Regions from separate parts of the Homo sapiens genome. Here region 2 is linked to region 1. The links are contacts of gene promoters, found by promoter capture Hi-C in blood cells and fetal thymus (Javierre and others, 2016). All regions are on one chromosome and are shown on one strand. The core of a region is centred on a gene start or on the middle of the fragment in contact, and the rest is flanking DNA. Distances in the headings are between cores, read along the strand shown. Region 1 holds the start of MED30 (mediator complex subunit 30). Region 2 overlaps LOC105375716 (a long non-coding RNA gene).

The links. The method cuts DNA at HindIII sites, captures the fragments that hold promoters and counts their contacts. A CHiCAGO score of 5 or more calls a contact.
Region 2: a fragment that was not itself captured here is called in contact with the fragment with the promoter of MED30 in region 1 in 2 of 17 cell types (naive B cells and total B cells); the score reaches 5.7 in naive B cells.

What each region holds. Positions count from the first base shown.
Region 1 is chr8:117,517,779-117,523,159 of GRCh38, reverse strand. It overlaps MED30 (mediator complex subunit 30), which reads right to left and starts at 2,447. Exons shown (of 4, transcript NM_080651.4): 1 at 2,107-2,447. The coding sequence starts at 2,283. It overlaps LOC105375716 (a long non-coding RNA gene), which reads left to right and starts at 2,440. Exons shown (of 7, transcript XR_928569.3): 1 at 2,440-2,606; 2 at 3,983-4,121. The HindIII fragment of the contact is 1,953 bases long and covers 853-2,805 here.
Region 2 is chr8:117,384,645-117,390,025 of GRCh38, reverse strand. The region is part of intron 4 of LOC105375716 (a long non-coding RNA gene); the gene reads left to right. Among named protein-coding and RNA genes, the nearest start is that of MED30, 130 kb to the left of the region's middle. RefSeq lists an enhancer at 748-1,947. The HindIII fragment of the contact is 5,963 bases long and covers 1-5,269 here.

The DNA.
Region 1 (5,381 bases), core at 1,198-3,697:
ATTGATAAAATACTTTTTTTGAAAAAGTTTAGTTCTGCGTAGAACATGAACCTGTATTATATCTTTTAATAATGTACATTGACAGCAAGTTAGTATTAAAAAGAGGTTAGTAGGAAGAGCTATTAGTCGTGTGTGATGTTGGGTAATTTATTTTTTCTCTCATTAAGCCTCAGTTTCCTTTACTGTAAAATAGGGATAAAAATACTCCTTAAAACTGCTCCTATAACAGGGTACCTGACCAAGGAAAGTACTTCGTAAGTGTTAGGTATTATTCGGTGCTTTGCATATAACAGGACAAAATTTTTTTTAAAGTATGCTAAATTCTGAGACATTATTTAATCCGTACTTTATTCATTCTAGATATGAATCTATTCATTTTTTTAAATTATTGCCAAAGAATGTCATAATTTCTCCTGGATCTCCTTTGTACTATATTTCACATGGTCTTAAAAATTTCCACGAAACTGAATTACTCTTATAATCAGGACGAAAAAAAAAGTCTTGACCAGTTAAAAAAAAAAAAAGCAATAAAACACTTTTTTGGACACCCACAGAAATAAGAGCTGTAAGATTTTTGAAAACTTGGTTTCAAATTTACCCTACCACTGACTAGGTTTGGGCAAGTCACTTTATCTCTCTGAAGTACAGAATCTTCATCTGTAAAACAAAAATAATATCTACTACATGTAGTGGGTAATATAAGCAAGCATTAAAAATGGGTCAGCAAAATGGTGCTGGAACAACTGGATATCCAAATGCAAAACAATGAACTTGGATCCGTATCTGCCACTATGTATACATATTTAAAAACTCACAAAACTAAATATAGGTTGTAGACCTAAATATAAAGCTTGAAAGTACAAAACTTCTAGAAGAAAACAGAAACCCTTTGTCACCTTGGGTTAGGCAAAGATTTCTTAGGTATGACAGCAAAACCAAAATCTATAAAAGAACAAATCAGTAAGCTGGATTCCATCAAAATTTAAAATGTCTGTTCTTCAAAAGACAGTATTAAGAGAATAAAAAGGCAGGATAGACTGGGAGAAGTATTTGGAAAGCATCAAGACATAACAGGTGTTGATGAGGATGAGGAGAAACTAGAACCCTCAAACAGCAATGTTTACATTCCCACTAGCAATAATCGGGACGTAAAATGGCTCAGGCCACTTTGGAAAAGTTTCTTAAAGTATTAAACAGACATGTACTGCATGATCCAGCAATTCCACTCCTGAATCTGTCCAAGAGAAATGACACATACGTTCACACAAAAATTTGTCAGCAAAAGTTCATAGCAGCATTATTTACAACAGCCAAAAAGTGGAAACAACCCAAATGTCCATCAACAGAAGAAAAGGTAGGCAAATGGTGATACATGGATACAATGGAACATTACTCAGCAATAAAAAGGAAATTATTGATGCATTCTTAGTGAAGGATCTCAGACAAAAAAAAAAGCCCACATACTGTAGACTCCGTTTATATAAAACCCTAGCAAATGCAAATTAATTTATGATTACAGAACGCAGATCAATGGTTGCTTAGCGATGGAAGGTGGGAAGCAAAGATGTCAGAGGGGTATGAAGAAACTTTCTGGGATGATGTGTACACTATTTTGATTGTGGTGATAATTTCACAAGTATACAGACTACAGTACACATATATATCAAAACTTTAGGTGAGTGTAGTTTACTGTATATTAACTATGCCAAAAAAAGGAGGACTGTTTTTTTAAAAAAAATGTAAATTCTTCAACTCCTTGGACCTCCCCAGAAGAAATGCTGGAAAAAACATTTAAAGCAACCTAAAGAGGGAAGTGGAGTGCGACCCATCTCTGCCTTGAAAGGTGCAAGAGTTTACAGAGTAACTAAAGAGCTCGATTGAATCTAAAAAAAATTGGCTTCAATTCTGCAGAAATCTGGTCTGGAAAACATCACCTCTACAAATCCGACTTTTGGGGACACTCTTGAGTGTGAATGGGGGAGACCCTACACCTAAGGTTTGCCCAGGGCAGCCCCGATGACATCCACGGGCCCCACGTAAAGAGGAAACCAGAGGCCCTTTCCCTCCCAGCTGCATCCCCCTGGCCTCGCGCGCCCGCCTTCCTACCTGCATGTTCCTCAGGAGCTGGAAGATCTCCATGGTGCGGTACACGATGTCCTGCACTGTCTCCTGCCCGATGCGGCACAGCGACGCCGTGTTGACTTCCCGGGCGGCCTGCTGAGCCTGGGGCCCGGCGAAGGGCCCGGGCGCCATCCCCGACGCGGCCAACGGAGGGGTGGACATGGCGCGGCTGCAGCTTCAGGCCGGAAGGGGCCAGACAGCAGGTGTCAGGGGTCTGCCCGGAATTGGGAGGCTGTGGGGCCTCAGCGTTGGAACCAGCTTGAGAGACCCCCCGCGGCCCGATTTCAAAACAGCGGCCGCGACTTCCGCCCACTGTGACGTAACACGTCAGAAAACGTCATAGACACCGCCCACTCGGCGAACTGTCTCCGAGCGGAGCCGGGCTGGATTGGATTGGACCCCTGGGCGGGAAAGGACGGACGGGTTAAGTAGCCAATCACCAATTGCGCTCCAGCCAGAGGGGCGATGTTCTTGGGGAGCCTGGGGTGAGTTCCCAGAGTTCGTTTCCCAGTCTTGGCTCAGCGTTAGAACCTTCTGTGTTTAGTTCCTTGCGGAGCATTTTCTCTTAACAAGCCTGAGGTTTGTAGTATAACAGCTAAGAGACAGGTTAAAGTACTTGTTGAGTCGCATACAGGTGTAACTGGCAACCTGCGATTCGAATTCAGAAAACAAGATTCCTAAGCTTGTACGCTTCTCTGTGACATGATACGGACTCCCCGATTGCTCTTGGTCCCTGCTCAGATGTTTTATTCTTTGAGTTTTCCCAGTATCTGTAAGCAAAAAAAATGATCAACACACACACTTCTTTCTGACTCTGGCTCTTATTAGTGTCTGATTTTTTTTTCTTTTTCTTTTTGAGATGGAGTCTCGCTCTGTCACCCAGGCTGGAGTGCAGTGGCGCGACCTCGGCTCACTGCAAGCTCCGCCTCCCGGGTTCACACCATTCTCCAGCCTCGGCCTCCCGAGTAGCTGGGACTACAGGCGCCCGCCACCACGCCCGACAAATTTTTTGTATTTTTAGTAGAGACGGGGTTTCACCGTGTTAGCCGGGATGGTCTCGATCTCCTGACCTCGTGATCCGCCCGCCTCGGCCTCCCAAAGTGCTGGGATTACAGGCATAAGCCACCGCGCCCGGCCTACTGTCTGATATTTTATATAGCTTTCAGTTTGTTTACTTTCAGACTTTATCTCACCCTATCTACACACACTGCCAACTCCATGAAAACAGACTATTTTATTCACTTATTCTCAACACCTAGTGATTGGCACAAGTATCAATAAATACTTATTGAATGATTGTTGAGTGACATGATAAATGCAAGAGAAATTAAAATGTCTCTCACAATGTCTCTCACTTACTGTTCATCTCCAAAGTGGGGAAAAGTGAAGAATGTAAAATTAGTGATAGGCACAAACATTGCATTTTTTAGAAGTATCTGAATGCTCCATTGTACGGACTTTCCAGGAAATAGTTACTAAATATGTCATAGGAACCCTGGTAGAGATTTTAAACATAGTAATTCGCAGGTCTTCGGTAATTACCATTCGACAAATATTGGCTGAGCACCTATTATGTGCTGGGTGCTAGGAGTGAAGATAGCGTACTGAACAAACCAGGCAAAAGCCCTGCAGCATGTTTGTCATGGGGACAAACAGAACACTATTGTGATGAGCGTCTTGAAGCAAAAGTTCCTGATATCAGGGTGCTAACAATTTAGGAGATTGAGAACGACCTGAAGGGAGCAGTGTGGAACCTGAAGGTGGATAGGGAAGGGAGTAACGAATGATAGAGTCTTTTCTATGAGGACGAGGAAGGCCAGTGCCAACACCTGAAGTGAAGAGGCCTCCTAATGCTTTCTAGGATCTGGAAGAAGTTCAGTGTGAGGACGAGTGTTAGGAAATAAGGCTGAAGACAGAGGCAACCCTGGAGGATCTTCTAACCCATGTCAAGCAGTTGAGAATTTATGGAGTGAAATAGCAAGCCATTGAAGAGTTTCAAGGTGAGAGGAATAATTTGAAATATTCATTTTAGAACACTTATTCTGGTTGCTAAATGGGGAACAGATGGTGGGTTTCTATTGTCTTCTCTCCCAAAGGGGAATGATGATGATGATCATGACCTGTGCAGAGAAAGGAGACAGAGGGTAACTTTGAATAAATATTTAGTAAGTAGAATCTAGAGAACTTGATAGTAACTGGATCAGGAACATTAAGGAGAGGAAAGAATTAAGGATGGCACGTATTTCTGCTTTCATGTGAAACTTCAGGTGAAGTTTATGTCATTTACCAAGACAGGATACACTGAAGAAAAAATAAGTTTCCGAGAAATTATGCCTTATGTTAATTTCCTATTGCACATGTAACAAATTACCACAAACTTTGTGGCTTAAAACAGCACACCTTTTATTATTTTATAGCTTTTTAGCTCAGAAGTCTGAAATTGTTCTCGCTGAACTACGCTCAAGGTGTTGGCGGGCTGTGTTCCCTTCTGGGGGCTCTCAGAAGGAATCTGTTTCCTTGTCTTTTCCAGATTTTAGAAGGCTGCCGCAATTGCTTGGCTCATGACCACTTCCACCAACTGCAAAAACCAGCTTTCATCCTTTTCAAAGCCAGAATTGGCTAGTTGAATATGCCATATCTCTGGTTCTGAGTCCTCTGCCTCTCTTTCATTTAAGTATCATTTTGATTACATCGGGTCCACCTAGATAATCCAGGATATCTTTTTATTTTAAGGTCAGCTGTTTTGCAGCTTCAGTTCCGTCTGCTACCTTAATCGCCCCTTGCCATGTAACATGACATACAGACTCTGGGAATTAGGATGTGGACATCTTCGGGGAGTAACTAAAATCTGCCTACCACATGCCGCCAATCCAAACTGTCCCTAAATTCAAACTCACATACCTAAAAACCTGACATCTTGACTTGGATGGCTATTTGGCATCTAAAACTTATGTCTAAGAAAACCCAACTCTTGATCCCTCCCAACCTTCTTTACCACACTTTTCCCATGTCATTGTCTGGCACCACCATGCATTTAGTTGCCCATCCTGGCTTCTCTCTTTCCCACCCTACTTCCAAGTCATCAGAAAATAGAATGAACTCTGACTTTCAAATATATCCTATATGTGACCAATTACTTCACCCCTTTCAACCTAGTCCAAGCTGTCTTCTCTTATTTAGAATGCTGGATAACAATCAAGAGTCTCCTAATTGAACTCCCTTCCTGCTACACTTGCCCCATCCAGTCCACACTCATTACA
Region 2 (5,381 bases), core at 1,039-3,538, 130 kb after region 1:
TCATATTTGCTATGAGTTTTACCTTTCTGATTTGAGATACTTATTTTACATATACAAATTCTTGTTTTCAGATATTTAATTCAGATGGAGCTCTTATGTTGCAGTTTTGTTCTACTTCATGGTTGACATTTTGGGGAGTATTTTTAACAGCTGGTACATTTTAATTCTTAATTTGTTTCTTTTTTGTCTAACTTTGTATGGATATTATCTACTTTTCATACTTATTTTGAATGTCTAATTTTCTGGACCAGCAATAGCAGTTGTATGCACACAAAAGTGAAAGTTTTGACAGGCTTATCAAGCTCCCTAGTTCAAGACTACCCTCTTCATTTAGTACGGTGAAGTGCAGCTTCTCTAATTAATTTAGCTATTTTTGTGTGTGGAAAATTTTTGTGTATTCCGTTTTGTGATTCCCTCTCACTTTCTCTCTCTCTTAGTTCAAGACTACCCTCTTCCTTTAGTGTGGTGAAGTGTAGTTTCTCTAATTAATTTAGCTATTTTTGTGTGTGGAAAATTTTTGTGTATTCTGTTTTGTGATTCTCTCTCACTTTCTGTCTCTCTCTCTCTCTCACACACACACACCCACACACACACACACACACACGTGCACACACACCAGAAATCTCAATTTCTTGTTTTTATATATATTTTTTTACCTTCACTACCAAGTAAGTGCCCATGGGGCATGTTTCCTTCTCAAGTTGCCCCATTCCCATGCAGAAGTTTTAGTTTCCAATGTTGCTGCTTTGGGTCCTGATTACATGCAAATCCTTTCATTTCTCTCCTTTCTTTCTTGTTTTCCTTTCTTTCTAGCCAGTACTCAGATCTACCAGATTCTACATTTGTTCTTGGTATTTTCCACTGCATGGTGGGGATTTAGCTTTTGGAGGGAATTCTATTTGGATTCTGTTACCCTATTTCTCCTGTGGCCCCTGCTCCTCTTTCCTCCTTCTTTTGGCCTCTTTCATATCTCTGCCTTACTCTTCCCCTAAACTGGATTTTTAAAAAATTTCCCTACTTGCCAGTGTTTTAAGCTCACATTATTGTATTTTCTGTTTCCTGCAGAAAGCATAGATTATGGGTCGTTTTATTTGCTGATTTTATTTATCCAGGTGGGTTTTGGGTGAATATTTAGAAAGAATTAGAGTTAAGAGGCAGCCATTATTCTATGTAAATCTAGAAAAACCAGATGATTAGGTTTTAAGCAGAAGACTGTCAGAAGTAAGATTTAGAAAAATAAAGCTGTGACAGAGCTCAGAAATGTGTTTGACTACTCACTTTCACTCCTCAGGTAAAGAAAGAAAAGGGTGAGATGCTTTCTGCCTTGTTCAGGTGCAAGCAATCCTCCAGGGCACCCAATCTTACTCACCACATCCATCCTAACCACACCCTGGCTCACAGAGGGTGAGGCAGAGAATGAATCATTGGGAGGGTTTTCGTGACTAACAGTCCTTCCACTGTCCTCGGGCCTGGCTATGCAGATTCTCACCTGTACACTTTTCTTCTTCCTGGGGTAATATTGCCCCCAGTTTCTCAGGTCTTTTCAATAGCTATTTTTTACTCACTTTAAGAATTTCTTTAAATATCAGCTATTTCAGGAAGCCTTCTGATGACCTACTGCAAACTGGATGGTGAATATTCTCTTTGTGCAACTACAGGAAACCATATACCTCCCTATCCCTGCACTTGACATGTTATTCTGCTTGTGAAAATGCCTCCACCTATAAAATGTGGATACTTCATGATTCCTTTTTCCTTTATGCATTTCAGTAGCGTCTCTCACAGAGCGTGATATTTAACAAATACTCACTGGTAGAATGAATAGATGAACAAAGAAAGCAACATAACTGCTCTAGAAATGCCTGCACTTTGCATTGTCCCAGCCTATGGGGAAAACGTCTTCCTGACTCTTTTGCTTTGTTATGGTTAGAGGGTCACTGGTTTCTACAGACAATTTTCTATGCTTATGTCCCTGATTCCAGGGCCACTTGGACATGAATTTTAACCAGACTTCCCCCCGGGGCCTGGAAGCATGGAGCATTTTGCTGAGTGTGCTTTTGGGTGATCTCCTTTCTATTCTTGTCTCCAGCCATGTTCCACTGGGGACACAAAAATGAATATATTATCTCAATATGTAGCTAAATAGGAAGACTGAATCCATCTCCAAAGTCACAATATTCTCTTCAGGTACAGGCAGAATAAATTTAGTTATTCTAAATCATGTTGAGGGGCAATAAATGTTCTTCTCTATTAAATTTCCTCTGCATTTCTTTCCTCCCCTCACCTGATCTTTAATTGTATTCCAGAAGAGGGTTTCATAATGAAGGACGACCTGCTTTCATCCAAGATCATTATAATTCTTGCAATTCCAAAGTCTGTTTCTCCCCTCTTCTCTGTAGAACTGAAACTATAAAAGTCTTAAAAGCATGGAACTTAGGACTTGAAGGGACCTCATTATCATCTAACCTTCTCATTTGACAGACAAGCACTGACTTGCCCATAATTATAAAGCTGGTTAATGGAAGAATAAGTAATAAAATAAGTTTCTTACTCACAGTTTTGTGTTCCTTTTGTTTCTGTGTGTCTCTGTATGTATATCTTCTCTCGTCCAAGCCTCCAGGATAGTGACCCCTCCCTTAAATCCCCTAACATATTCTTCTTGTGTAAATGGTTCCAAGCAGCAGTTTGAAAATAATGTTACTACACCATAGAGCCTTGAGATTAATGATATAAGCATCTCCTTGTCATAATGCTTCACAAATTTTAGAGACATTCCTTTTCCTCTCTTTTATTTTTGTCATGAAAAAAGAAATAAAATTTCTCTTAAAAATAAAAAAAATCCAGAATCCTTTCAAGTTTTTTCAGGAGTTTAAACCATTCTTCATCAGTTGCAATTTTCTCTTCTATATTTTCCATTAAGGAAGGCAGAGTTAATAACAAATTTGGAGTCCTGTTAGAGAATTTGCAGTCTCAATTTACTGCCTTCTAGTCCTTTTTATCTTGGCCTTCTCATAAAAGGGAAACTGTTTTCTTTGAACAAAGGGATCAGTAATTCACAATCTTGGTTTTGCCACACCCCAGGGTGTCTTCAACCATAAAATAGTGTCAAGAGATTGTCAAAACAAAATTAATTGAAATTGAAACAATAAATTCCTGCCATAAAATGTCTTCAGAAGGTGAAAGGAAAGGTGTATCATAGAATAAAGCAAAAGGTGAGTTCCCCAAAGGATGAGAATTGTTGATCCAAAGGGAAGATGGAAAATCTTTTACTCTTATCTCACCTGTGTTTTTAAAACCTTGCAGGACATAGAAGGAGGAAAAACTAGAATTGTCAAAACAATAAGCCACATCTTCTTACAAGTCAGGGCCCTCCACAGCGTTTCTGACAGTTTGAACACCAGCTAAAGTTTTTTTAACACTAAATTTAGCATGCACAGGCATTTCAGATCTGTCACTAGAAGCAGGGTGATGTCAGTGAGAAAATCTGGTGTTGTTTCATTTTCACAAGTTTTTCAGGATCTGAAATGGAGTGTTTGTTGAGCATGTCACTGCAAGAGGGGGTAATCATTAGTGATCTGAGAAACAAGGCTTGTTGCGAGGTTAAGAACCTAAAAAATGCTTATTAACAAGGAGAAGGGCTGTCAAAGGGAGGAAGGCAGTGAGACAAACGTAGTATTTATCACTCCTGGGGGCTCCAATTTATTTAGATGCTTTGGAATTCTACTCTTTGGGCCATGTATGTGGTAAGACTAAAGTCACATTCACACTTCAGGGGAATGCTGTTGTAGTCATTCTTAAGAAATGTGTCATGACATGGGGCATCTTTTTATCCTAAACCATTTGTGCTTTGCCTTTCAGACTAAAGTGGCTTCTGAACGTTAGAATTTTAATTAGAAGTTGAATGAAAACCTTTTACCAATGAAGATGATCTTGAAAAACATAAGGCAATAATGAGGTTTTTAGGAAGCAAACCATTTATTATTCTGTGCCCATTTGACTCTCTGCTTCATGTTGAGGGGCAATAAATGTTCTTCTCTATTAAATTTCCTCTGCATGAACTTGCATTTAATTATTTTTAAGGAAGGCTTCATGTCTGCTCTTAGTCTGAAGTCCTCATGAAGAATTTGGAGTTTCACACAATTTAGCTCCCTGTAGAAGAGATTGCTGGTAGCCCTCTTCAATGTCAGTTTGCTCTTTTTCATTAGTCATAGAACCCCAGTTTTATTAGGTTGGCGCAAAAGTAATTGCAATTTTTTCATTAAAAGGGATGGCAAAAACCGCAATTACTTTTGTACCAACCTAATATTGGGTGACAGTGATTTCAGTTTAAAGAAGATATTTCCCCAGCTCTTTTTCAGCTAAGTGTGCCCATGAAATTATAATTGGTTCTTGCCAATGATATGTCAACAAGAAGTTACATGAAAAGTAGAGTAAGGTTTCAAAAGTTTATTAACTCACTGACAAATGTGTCCCTTAGTATACATTTCTCCTCCCTGAAATCTGATAATTGGTTCTGAGGTTTGGAGCTGTAGCAACCAACTGGATTGATGTCATGGTTAATTGTGTGTCAACTTGACTGGACCACAGGGTGCCCATGCATTCAGCTGGATGTTATTCTGGGTATGTCTGTGATGGTGTTCCTGGATGAGAGTAACATTTGAATTGGTAGGCTGAGTGATTGCCTTCCCCAATGTTGATGGGCCTCCTCCCATCAGCTAAAGACCAGAATAGAACCTTTTCCTTCTTTTGGACTCAAACTGAAATGTCAGCTCTTTTGGGGTCTGGAGCCTGCTGACTTTTGAACTAAGACTACACCATCAGCTCTCCTAGGCTTGGTGACTACAAATCTTGGGACTTCTCAGCCTCCATAATCTCATGAACCAGTTTCTTACAATAAATCTCTTTCTATAGGTACACATATCTTATTAGTTCTGTTACTCTGGAGAACTCTGATTAATACAATCCGTAAGGTGGCTTTGAAGGCAGAAAGTGTGCTGTAGGATGATAAAGCAGGAAGATAGAAGGAGCCTTGACTTCTGACAATTTCACTGAATGATTATACTAGTCCTGGGCTGCTAAACTTCGGGGCTTCATGTTATGTGAACAAATAAGCACCTAATTCGTTTAAACACTGTTATTTCAGCTTTCTGTTACTGGCAGCCAGAGGCAATTTTTAATTAATATACTCCCTTGTTACACATAAGCTCTGTGAAAGCTGAAAAGAAAATTTATACTTCTTTGTTTCCCCCTCAGTGATTAGGACAAAGCTTTGCCCAGAGTAGGAGCTCTAGAAGTATTTATAGAGTTATTTTCTTTAACAAACATCTATTGAGCTCCTAATATGTACCTGGTAATGTGCTAAGAGTGTGAAATAAAAGAAT